4 separate regions of the Homo sapiens genome follow, and all the other regions are linked to region 1. Evidence: promoter capture Hi-C in 16 types of primary human blood cells and fetal thymus (Javierre and others, 2016). All regions are on one chromosome and are shown on one strand. The core of a region is centred on a gene start or on the middle of the fragment in contact, and the rest is flanking DNA. Distances in the headings are between cores, read along the strand shown. Region 1 holds the start of LINC01341 (long intergenic non-protein coding RNA 1341). Region 2 overlaps AHCTF1 (AT-hook containing transcription factor 1). Region 3 overlaps AHCTF1 (AT-hook containing transcription factor 1). Region 4 overlaps AHCTF1 (AT-hook containing transcription factor 1).

Region 1 (2,766 bases), core at 71-2,570:
CCACAGCACACAGGAGGCCCCGAGATGCCACCTGCCATCCTCCGCAGCTGTAGACCTTCCCTCCTGTGCACATGAGAAAGGTCAGCCTACCTGCTCACGGAAACCGCCGTTTGCTGGGTGTCTTTGACTCTCATCTTCTTAGAATTTCAGATAAACACGCTTCCTTCACAAATGCCGACGGTAAAGTGACGGTCACTCCACATAGCAAATGCAAGGTTGCCGTTAACGGGGTGCCCATCACCACCAGGACAAAGCTGCAGCATTTGGTAAACTTTCCTGCAGGCTCACAGAATGTCCTAGGTCCCCCCCAAGAGCTGGGAGGGGACAGTCATGTGAGGTGCCCACATCACAGACGTGGCAGGATGGGGCGTTCACACCAGCTCCTCTGCCACCATGGCTTGGGGACAACATGGCACCACTGCTGGAGGGACAGGCCTGCTCCTGACTCACTGTGTGGTCTTGGGCAAGTCACTTCACTCCTCTGACCTCACCTGGAAAACAAGGAGGGCTGAACTAGGTGTTCTCCAAGGTCCCTTCCAGCTCTAACATTTTGTGCCATTTTAGATTTTTCTAAGAGCCTGTCACTGAGAGGGGTTGAACAGCATCTTGCAAACATCGCTGCCTCTTCCTCCCCAATCTGCCAACCCTGGGGCCCCTGCCAGCTTCCCAGCAGCCCTCTCCCCTCCCTGGTGGCCACAGCCTTTCAGACAGGACAGGCAGATGGGGATTGGCCGCTCCCCATTTGGAAAGCCCCCTCAGTGACCTCCCTCGGCCTCCTGTCCCTGGCCACACTGCCCTTCTTTTGGTTGTTCAGCAGCCGTCTCTGCCTCACCAAGACTTACCGCCCAGGAGGGCTTAGCTTGGGCATCACGCCTCGGAAAAGGCCGTCTGTAGCCTGTAGTCTGAGTTAGGTCCTGGTGTCCCCTGCAGCCATTGCTGCACTCACCCAGACCAGCCTGGAAAGCGTGGAGGGAGGGCCTGGCTCTGGGTGGTCCCCACAGAACCCCAGGGCCAAGGGAGTCACGCCCTCAATGTGTGCAATGAAGGTGAACGCAGGAGCCAGAGGCCACCTCCCTCCTGTCTGCGTCTCTCCCTGTCTGGGGGATTCCTGAGGGGAGGACATTCCTCAGATCCTTCTCACTGGGGAGGTTCACCTCACCCTCCTTGGCCTCGAACCCCTCCTGAGCCCACCGTCTCCTCCCCAGGACCGCCTGATTTTGGGATCCAACAGCACCTACCTGTACGTGGGGTTTCCTTCGGAGTGGGGCAGTGAGGACCTGAGCAGGTTCGATTACGACTTCTTCCAGCTGGAGAGGGCGGCTGCGGAGGGAGCGAGTGCAGACAAACTCGGTGAGCCCCCTCCTGACTGCTGGCCTCTCCCGTGTGCTGATCTGAGAGCAGCGATTTCACACTGTGTCTCTCTGCTTTCCTTAAGAACATCATCATTTGTTTTGTCAAAGTCTGATGTTTACAAAATTGAATTATGATTTCCATATAGAGTGACTACATGGTAAACATTCAACTCGTTAAACGTTCCCTGAGGAATGAGGGTAAAGATGGTTCAAAGGGGTAGAGAAGAGAGTGGGGTACCCAGCAAATGAGAGAAGAATGCTGAGCTGGAGAAGCCAGTTAGTGGCCTCCGGCCGCCCCCAGGGGCCTGCTGGGCCTGCAGAAGCAGTGGCCCAACTCCAGAGGGGCCGGCTGGGGCCTGCTGTGGGCTGCAAATGCGCGGCCCGGAAGAACGTGCAGCCCGAGGCCTCTGAGACAGAATCTCCCCTCCTCGCCCGAACGCAGCCCCCAGCAGTAGCCCACGCGGGCCGCCCGCCGCTGCCGGTCTCTGCTGGGGCTTTCGCGCGCCTTCCCCGCCCCTCTCCCCGCCCCGATTCACCGCGCTCCGGGCGGCTCCCCCAGAATCCTGGCCAGGCCGGAGCCCGCTGCGATCTGAGTGACCTGCGGGCTTCCCGGAGGGGCCCCACGCTTTGCTCGGCACCGGGACTCTGCCTGAACTCGCAGTAATGAAACCGCTGGTGGAAAGTGGGCAGATCCACCTGTGTGTGTGCAAGAGCTCCTCCCTGTCCCCACACCACAGTGTTTCTCTCAGAATTTCAGCAAAATAAATCGATTAGAAATTCACCTCCTTGCTCTTCTTCTGCTGAAGTTTTCGACTTTTAAAAATGAACAAGGCCGGGCGCGGTGGCTCACGCCTGTAATCCCAGCCCTTTGAGAGGCCGAGGCGGGCAGATCACGAGGTCAGGAGATCGAGACCATCCTGGCTAACACAGTGAAACCCCGTCTCTACTAAAAATACAAAAAAGTAGCCGGATGTGATGGCACACACCTGTAGTCCCAGCTACTCAGGAGGCTGAGGCAGGAGAATTGCCTGAACCTGGGAGGAGGAGGTTGCAGTGAGCTGAGATCGTGCCACAGCACTCCAGCCTGGGTGACAGAGCGAGACTCCATTTCAAAACAAAACAAAACAAAACAAAACAACGAACCAGTAAGACTCTGTCATACCAGGCCCGGAAAAGCCATCTGTTCATTGACCTGTCCTCAGAGGTTGACCGTGCCACTGCCCCTGTGGCCCTGGTGGCGCCATGAAGCTGAACCAGCCCCAGACCCTGGCTCGGACCCTAGGGAAGACTTGGGTCCCCAACAAGGCAGCAGCTGTGTGAGCAGTTTGGGGTCAGACCTCAGGGCCAAGGGCACTGTGTGCACCCACAGGCCAGGGGTCTCTAAGAGTTGAGATTTCCTGATTAGAGGCAGTAC
Region 2 (2,829 bases), core at 11-2,510, 82 kb before region 1:
GGACTAAACAGCACAGGGAGAAAGAGTCTATTTTTTTATATGGTGATTTATCACCGGTTAAGATTTTTTTCTTTTACAGAAGAGTAATGAGTATAGAGAGTTCTATAAGGGAGAAAGTTTGAATATATCAAGAGTATGGCAAGGGCACATTTACTTAACATGTAATATCCCTTCCCCAGAAGAGAAGCTTGAGATCAGAGACTGGCTTATAGGAATAAGTCGAACCTAGTAGCGCCTGATCTGAGGGCTCTGGTGCAGGATTCACTCAGGAATGATGGCTTTTAGGGTCTGAGCCCCTGAAACTTAGGAGAAGAGTGAGTGCTTAATAATACATGGTCCAAACAGTTTAGTTGGTCTGGAGGCGATTTGGATTTTTGAGTCTTAAGGTGAACCCGGTCTCTAGGTTAATATGGGTGAAGCTTAACCTCAGTGGGAACTAGAAGTTTGTGGTTTCACATGTTTTAAGAGTTTGTATTTTTAAAAATCTACAGCATGTTTTACTGCCCTCTTGGTCTCGACAGCAGCACACTTCGAAGGTTCAATCATGCCAAGCAAGCTCTTCTATATAGTGATTGGAAAGGGCCAAGTCCCATTCCCTTTCAGCACCCATGATAGTGCGATGGGAAGGAGCTTTAGTCAGTTTTTGAGTTTCCTGGCATAGTTTGGCTAGCGTGATCCTTATGTTTTATTACTATGCTTGACCTTTTTAGATGAATGAGGTTTCTTAAGTTATGTGTAACCTCCTCTATTTAATTTCCAAGGCAGAGGACACCCCCTAAGTAACTTTGTAAATGAAGGCAGTTCTGTTGTCACTCTGGATTGGTTGGAGTAAGCCAGAACCTCAAGATGATGTCTTTGAGTAAAGCTCTGACCACCTCATTTGTCTTTTTGTGTGTGACAAGGGTGTATCCCTTTTATTTAGCCAGTAAAGGTGTCTACACTAGTAGGTACCTGAAGTTTTTGGGTCCTGGGGCATCACTGTAAAGTCTTCTTGTCAGTCTTTTCCTGGCGTGCCACCCCAGCTGGACAGCTTGGGTTAGTGGAGTCACAAGGGAGCCCGATCTGAGTATTATTTTGTACAAATTGGAGACACCTGTTAGATCCTTGATCTGTTTTATCTTTTAGATCAGGTATCTTTAGTAACTAATTGCGTAAGGTTTGTTTTGTTTTGTTATTTACCATAATGTGATGATCTATGACCATATTTAGTTAGAGACCACCCTAGGTTTTTGGGAATCTAGGTTCTTTTTTTTTTTTTTTTTTTGTCATTAATAGTTCATCTTTCTGAATCTAAGTGTGGAAAATACCCTTTGCGTTTGGCTTTAACTCCTGAGGTGAACACTGAGGCTGGGACTTGTGGAGTAGGATGTCTGGGATCAGGGTCATTTGTAAAGTTCACATGTTTGTGTTGTCTTTTTAGTAGCTGTGTCTTTAGGTTGTTATTATTTTTTAATAACCTCAAATTTTTATTTTTTATTTTTTTGTGACCCTGGCAGTAGGCCACTGCTACCCTTTTAGGTAGCTATACTGCTGCCTCTAATAGCTGTAATGTTTTTAATATTATTAACCTCCTTATAGTCTGCAGTCAGGAGGCCTCAAAAAAAAATGCACTGTAGGCATGGATTACAGAGAAAGCATACTTAGAGTCTGTGGAGACATGATGGCCTTAGCCTGTCCTGAAGATGAGGCTCATCTAGTCAGGGTTCACAGAGGTAGGCTGTTAGCCTCTTTAACTCCAAGTGAGGACAGCACTGTATACCTTGTTTTTCTGGGCCCCTTTCTGTGATGTTACTCTGATTTACGAAGAAAGGCTTTGTTAACTTGAGAGTTCTGAAAGGGTTTGTTTTTTAGGTCCTTTTGACTAGAATACATTTTATCAGTAGTGGTTGAGTATTTGTGTGGGAGCAGTTCCTGGGAGGTGGAAAGAAACATGGCAGGGTTAAGTAAGGATCTGGCACACCTTGATGTGGCTGCCTCTTAATTTAACTTTTTATTGTAACATCCTCCCATCAGTAAGCGAGTGGTGTCTCTGTTTTTAGCACTCTGGATAACTGAGGACCTAGACCATTAATGTCTGAGTCATGGTTTGTTTTTAAGCTTTTCTCACTAATAGGCAAGTAGTAACCACTGTCCTAAGACATGGGGGCCTTTTGGTGGCCACCATGTCAAGTTGGTTAGAAAAAAATGAGCCACCACCTTTTTTAGTGGTCCTAGCATTTGGGTAAGTGCTCCCCTGGCTAGCTGTTCCCTGCCTTTTATGAGACAGATAAGTCAAAAGGTTTGGCAACTTAAGCAAGGCTACAGTGGGAGCGCAGTCACTTTTTGTTTGCTTGGTTGTTTTTAGTTTTTCGAAGGCTCAGTTGTATTGTTTGTCTTCTTTAAAAGGGTCTGACTCCAGCTCTTGTAGCTTTTTATAAAAAGGCTTTGTTAAAATACCCGAATTGGGAATTTATATGTGACAGAATCCGGCCATTTTCAAGAATTTTTGGTTCTGAGGAGGAGGTATTTGATACACAGCCATTTTCCTGTCCTGGGAAGGACACCCCTGTCCCTGAGAAATTAAATAGCCTAGGGCTTTTTTTTTTTTTTTTTGAGGTTTTATACCCTCTTTTAGCTAGAAAGTTTAGGGTACAGTATTTATACTAGATTCCTCTTTAGAGGAGCTAGTAATTAAAATATTGCTTACATATTATACTTTTCTCTTTTAAATGTAAAATTCCTATAATCCCTGGAGACCCTCTATCTGTTTACACTTTATCATTTCAACACTGTAGATTCTGTCTCAAGAAACCACTTGTTTGCCTATCTGTAAGAAGCAATTCCTCATTT
Region 3 (2,810 bases), core at 84-2,583, 110 kb before region 1:
TCTCCACATGGCATCTTGGATATATTAGTACATGAGAGAAGTTTAAATAGAGGAGTCCCTCCTTCATATCCACCTCCCGAGCAGTTTTTTAATCCAAGCACTTATAATTTTGGTATGTATTTCCTTAACATTACCTCTTAAGAAAAGTAATGCACAAAAGTATGTAAATGTATACGTTGTGTAGTTTATTCATTTAGTGTTATCTGTTTGTATCTCACTGTTAGTTAACATATGGATAACTTAGGAAATTAATATATACACACAAGAAACTTAGTATTTATATGTTTTATAAAGGAATTATGACTTGGAGATATTTAGTATTTATATGTTTTATAAAGGAATTATGACTTATTTTGAACTTGCTAGGAAAGATATTAACTGTTTCACATCTGGTGCATTTTATAGTAGCTTTTATTTTTTTTGCTGTGTTTCTCAGCTGTGCTTGGAGTTTTTTGGGTTTTGTTTTTTGCTTTTTTCTTGTTTTGCTGTGTAATAGGTTTGTTATCTATTCTTAGGATGAAAATACCTAGAAAAGTTTATTTAAAGATTTATTACATGTAATAATTTGACACCTTGCCTTGCAGTCTGTTATTGGATAAATTTTGTTCTATTAATGCCATTTTAAATATATGTAAGTGGATTATTTTTTAAATCTTTTTTTTAGATGCCACTTGTTTGTTAAACTCGGGAGTTGTTCATTTAACTTGTACTGGCTTTCAGAAGGAGGTAGGTAACAACTAGTGATTTCTTAATTGAACTGAAGTCAGATCTTAGAATATAGTTGATTTATGGATTTAAGTTTTACTTAGTGATATTGACAGTTGTTTCAGCTTAAATGGTAGCTTCTGCTAGGTTTATGAGATTATCAACTAGTAGTATCAGTTACTAATGACAGCCTGCCGGAAGACGTATTGTATGTTTTTAGCAACTAATTTATGTAGATGCTAGCTACGTGAACCTCAAGCTTTCTGTCTCCTCAGAAAGCTTATGAGGAAATGAAGTAATGCAAAGAAGGCACCTAGCACAGTGGTATAGTGCCTGGCACAGGAAAAAAAAAAAGAATTTTGAAAAATACTTTTCTCTTTTTGAGACGGAGTTTCGCTCTTGTTGCGCAGGCTGGGGTGCAGTGACACCATCTCGGCTCATTGCAACCTCTGCCACCCAGGTTCAAGTGATTCTTCTGCCTCCGCCACCTGAATAGCTAGGATTACAGGTGCTCACCACCACGCCCGGCTAATATTTTGTATTTTTAGTAGAGATGGGGTTTCACCATGTTGGCCAGGCTGGTCTCGAACTCCTGACCTCAGATGATCCGCCTGCCTCGGCCTCCCGAAGTGTTGGGATTATGAGCGTGAGCCACCGTGCCTGGCCTGAAAAATGCTTTTCTAGGGAAGTATGATGTGGCAGACCTTTTCATTGATAATCGTCCAGATGTGGATGAATGCTGTATTTATACTTAATATCAAATCTCTTTCACATTAGATAAAGAGGAGTAGACTGCAGGAGTTTTCCTGTGTGTGTGTGTGTGTGTGTGTGTGTGTGTGTGTGTGTGTGTTTTGTCAAGATGTCACCAAATCTGTCAGCTTTAGAGAAGACAGCAGGGTTATACAGTTCATAAAAATATATAAGCTACCTTTTGCTAATAGTAGTATTCACAACTAGCAAGCATTGGTTAAGCTTAAGAACCTATAAACTCTGTTTCTTGCAGGAAATATAGTCTTTCATAATTTCCACTTGCTATCTTTAAATTTTACTTAAATTTTAAGTGTAATTAATTAATCTTAAATTTGATTATTCAAATTGAGCATTGATTGATGCCTTACTAATTTATCTGTTACAGACTTTGACTTTTTTAAAGAAATCAGGTCCATCACTCAATGAACTCATTCCTGATGGTTATAATCGATGTCTTGTAGCTGGCCTTCTTTCCCCAAGATTTGTTGATGTTCAGCCTTCCAGTTTAAGCCAAGTGAGATGATTTTTAACTCTATTGTTTCTTTTGGTTGGATCACGTTATTAGCTTTCTATTACAGTAAAAATGTATTAGATAATTTCTGCAAAAATAGGTGAAGTAGTGTAATGCTGACTCTGGGTGATCAGCAGTTGTGGTCTTAGGTTTGGTTTAAAATTCCTATTCCTAATACCCAATAGGCCATAACTTGGCAGCAGGTTGACTTAGCTGTATAGAAGGATACAGGACAGGAAACACCTCATGGCTGCCTCAGGCTGGAATGCAGTGGCATGGTCATGGCTCACTGTAGCCTCAACCTCTTGGGCTTAAGCGATCTTCCCACCCCAGCCCCCGCAAGTAGCTAGGACTACAGACAGGCACAACTATGCTTAGCCCTTTTTTTTTTTGGTAGAGACAGGGTCTCGCTATGTTGCCTAGGCTGGTCTTAAACACCAGGCCTCAAGTTACCCTCCCACCTTGGCATCCCAAAGTGCTGAAATTACAGGCATGAGCCACCTTGCCCAGCCTGTAATAATGTATTTTTACTGTACCTTTTCTGTGTTTAAATACACGTATACTTCATATTGTGTTACAGTTGCTTACAGTATTCAGCACAGTAACATGCTATACAGGTTTGTAGCTTAGGAGCAATATACATAGCCTTGATATGTAGTTGACTACACCATCTAAGTTTGTGTAAGTACGCTCTTACCATGATTGCACAACAATGAAACACCTAACGAAACATTCATCGGAATGTATCCCCATCATTAAGCAACACATGGCTATATGGAAAAATGCAATTCATTTTTGTATATTTATTTGATATCTACATAACTTTCAAGGTGTGCAACCATCA
Region 4 (2,864 bases), core at 185-2,684, 66 kb before region 1:
TCAAGCAGATTGGTGAGAGTGTCAGTTTATGTTCTGCAACAAGATAAACAGCCTGCCTTGGAATATAGATAAGTGCACTGCCTCCTTTACGGAAAGTCAGCTGTACTAATCAGTATGATTAGTGAAGCAATTGATTCACCTTCTGGCAAGAGGTCCTTGTCTCATTGCGAGACTGACACAGATTGCATGTCCGCACTTTTGAATAACACCGTTGTAGAGGATACAAAAAAGGGACAGCTTCAGTTATCAAGTAGTAGTAAGGGTGATTCAGTAAAATTAACCGACACAAAATATAACTTACAACATTATAAATGGTTCGTTACTTTATACATAATGAAAGGGACTTACCAGACCACCTATACAATTCAGTATCATGATAGTCACCCCTTGTACCTTGAACTAAATCACATGCTTTACGCCTGAGAAATCTAGATTAGCTGGAATTTTTGCCAGGCCTGCATGGAAAAAGTAGAAGCCAGTATGAAAGGATTATCCAAATTATTTTTTCATTGTAATGTTTTTTGAATTTTAATGAAAACTAATGTTATTTATTGCAATGGCTTTCATGGATAATTGCAAAGCAAAGAGCAGTCGCATGAGAAGGAATCACATGAGAGTTACCAGCATGAGAAGGAATCACATGAGAGTTACCAGTGAGAACCTGGGTGCATATTCACTATCTTGGCTAACTAGTTCCTTTTAAAATATAAGCTTATTTGATATTTTGTGGTGATGTATCACTGTTACTTTTATGGTAAAATCTATAAATGTTTCAAATACCTTTTTATTGAATTTACTTTCAAATACTATTTGTTGTAATTTTCAAAATTAGCATGCTTTAATTGGGTTTTGAGAAAGGTCAGATTAGAATATTAAAGGAACACTGTCATCATATTCCAGGATTTATTTTCATGTGGATTAATACAGGTTTCATTGGTCTCTTATTCTGAGTCATTTATCATACTTTTTCTAGGTAGCATTAAAATATTGAACCTTGCCTCTACTGAGTTCATAGAAAATATTCCAGAATACTTGACAGACTTATTTGAAGACTGGCCACAGATTATTAAAAATTGGCTTAAATATAATGTATACTGACAGGCATTTTAAAATCATTTCATTTCTACTTTAAGGCCATGCCATTGTTGCCAAAAGAGTAAAACATTAGAAAATGGGTAAAACAAGTACAGCATTGTTTCTGAATTCACTTTTAAATTTTATATTATTGTTCAGAATGAGCTTGAGTTGTATTGAATTCTCTGAACCTCAGTTTACATCACCAAAATGACAGGTTAGGTGGTAGGACTAAAGCAGGTTAAAGCAGATGGGATCTTCTTACACACTAAGGTATGTATTTCTTTTTCTAAAGGAAAATCTTCACCCAGAAGTCCAAGGTACCAGTGTTGGACGAAGGATTAACATCTGTTGAAACCTACACCCCTGCAATTAGAGCAAATGACAATAAATGTATGTATAATAATTTTGACTTCAGGATTATTCCATTTTTGTGTTTTGAGTGAAGAGTTTTCTGTTCTTAGAACAAAATAATCTATTGTGTTATTCAGATTTTTCCTCCTCAGTTATTCCTCTCTCTGGTCAGCTTTCCTGGTGTAGAAGTATTCTAAGGAGATATATAAGCTGTCAGACAGTGGGTTGCTTGTAAGGCATTCTGTGGCTCTAATATTCAAAGTCTTAGATTACTAGTCCACAGCCAAATGCATCCCTGCCGTTTGATCTTCTTGGACTCAGAAGAGTTATTTCGTGTTTGTTTGTGATAACTTAAGGCCAAGGTTGACTTTTCATTATTAGAAAATAATCACAAATGACTGAATATTCTCCAGGGAAATTAACAAATATATGGAATTTTTTTTTTAATCCAATGAGCATTTTTGTGAAGGCCTATTCTCAGTTAGGCCCTGGCTATACAGAGATGAGGAAGATAGGATTTTCTTAAGGAGCTTACAGTTGGATTCAGGGGAAGCAGACACCTTGAATGTCTATGCCCAGAATTGGTCTGATCATCTTGTGTCTATTAACTCATTTAATCCTCACAGCACTATACTATGACATAGTTGTTATCTGACTCTAGAGCCCATGCTCTCAACTGTTATGCCTTTGTTCCTGGTACATTATGAATGGGGTATACGGCAAGCTTCAGCAGACTAGTTTTTGTCCCATGATTAAGGTAATACATGATTATGGAGTAATCCAGAGAGAATTGTCTAACATGTAAAAAGCCGATCACCCATTTTAGGGGTCCATAATTAACCATTTAAAGTGTCTTTCCTGAATTTTTGTTTTCTGTGCCCATTTCTCCCGATATGTTGGAAGAGGAGACAAGACGGTGCCTGAAGAGTGCAGGGGGCTGAACCCGAATGTGTGGGTTCCTAACCCAGTTCTGCACTTCCCAGTTCTGCACTTAAGGGCTGTGTCTCTATTTTTTTTTGTTGGTAAAATATTAATAGTTTTAAATGGGAATATTAATAAGACCCATTTCCTAGAGTTGTCAGGATTAAGCCCCTTGCATGTAAAGTGTTTTGTGTAGCGCTTGGTACCTGAAGTTTAGTAAATGTTAGCTGTTAGAAATGATCATTATCAAAAAAGCAACTTTCTTTTCTCATGTAATATATTTAAGACATTTTTTCTGTCAGGAATATAGATTAATCCTGTTCTTTTTAACAGCTCTAATAGTGTTTTGTAGTGTAGATGTTACATGCTTAACTAATTGCTTATTGCTGAACATTTGGGCCAATCACCATTTTGGGGTTTGTTTTGCTGTTTCTGCAGTGAATATTCTTGTGCACATTACATTCTATGTCAGTATTTCTTTCGGGTAGATTCCTAACCATGGACTTGTTGGGTCC

What was found. The method cuts DNA at HindIII sites, captures the fragments that hold promoters and counts their contacts. A CHiCAGO score of 5 or more calls a contact.
Region 2: a fragment that was not itself captured here is called in contact with the fragment with the promoter of LINC01341 in region 1 in 1 of 17 cell types (megakaryocytes); the score reaches 6.2 in megakaryocytes.
Region 3: a contact is called between a fragment that was not itself captured here and the fragment with the promoter of LINC01341 in region 1, in 1 of 17 cell types (megakaryocytes). The highest score is 5.2, in megakaryocytes.
Region 4: a fragment that was not itself captured here is called in contact with the fragment with the promoter of LINC01341 in region 1 in 1 of 17 cell types (megakaryocytes); the score reaches 6.9 in megakaryocytes.

Annotation. Positions count from the first base shown.
Region 1 is chr1:246,788,171-246,790,936 of GRCh38, reverse strand. It overlaps LINC01341 (long intergenic non-protein coding RNA 1341), which reads right to left and starts at 1,320. Exons shown (of 2, transcript NR_015422.1): 1 at 1,239-1,320; 2 at 1-491. RefSeq lists a silencer at 2,000-2,079. The HindIII fragment of the contact is 6,171 bases long and covers 1-2,766 here.
Region 2 is chr1:246,870,487-246,873,315 of GRCh38, reverse strand. All of the region lies in intron 24 of AHCTF1 (AT-hook containing transcription factor 1), which reads left to right. Among named protein-coding and RNA genes, the nearest start is that of AHCTF1, 60 kb to the left of the region's middle. The HindIII fragment of the contact is 1,678 bases long and covers 422-2,099 here.
Region 3 is chr1:246,897,367-246,900,176 of GRCh38, reverse strand. AHCTF1 (AT-hook containing transcription factor 1) reads left to right here. Exons shown (of 36, transcript NM_001323342.2): 10 at 1-112; 11 at 665-726; 12 at 1,841-1,969. Among named protein-coding and RNA genes, the nearest start is that of AHCTF1, 33 kb to the left of the region's middle. The HindIII fragment of the contact is 693 bases long and covers 987-1,679 here.
Region 4 is chr1:246,854,333-246,857,196 of GRCh38, reverse strand. It overlaps AHCTF1 (AT-hook containing transcription factor 1), which reads left to right. Exons shown (of 36, transcript NM_001323342.2): 31 at 1,370-1,467. Among named protein-coding and RNA genes, the nearest start is that of LINC01341, 66 kb to the right of the region's middle. The HindIII fragment of the contact is 1,441 bases long and covers 714-2,154 here.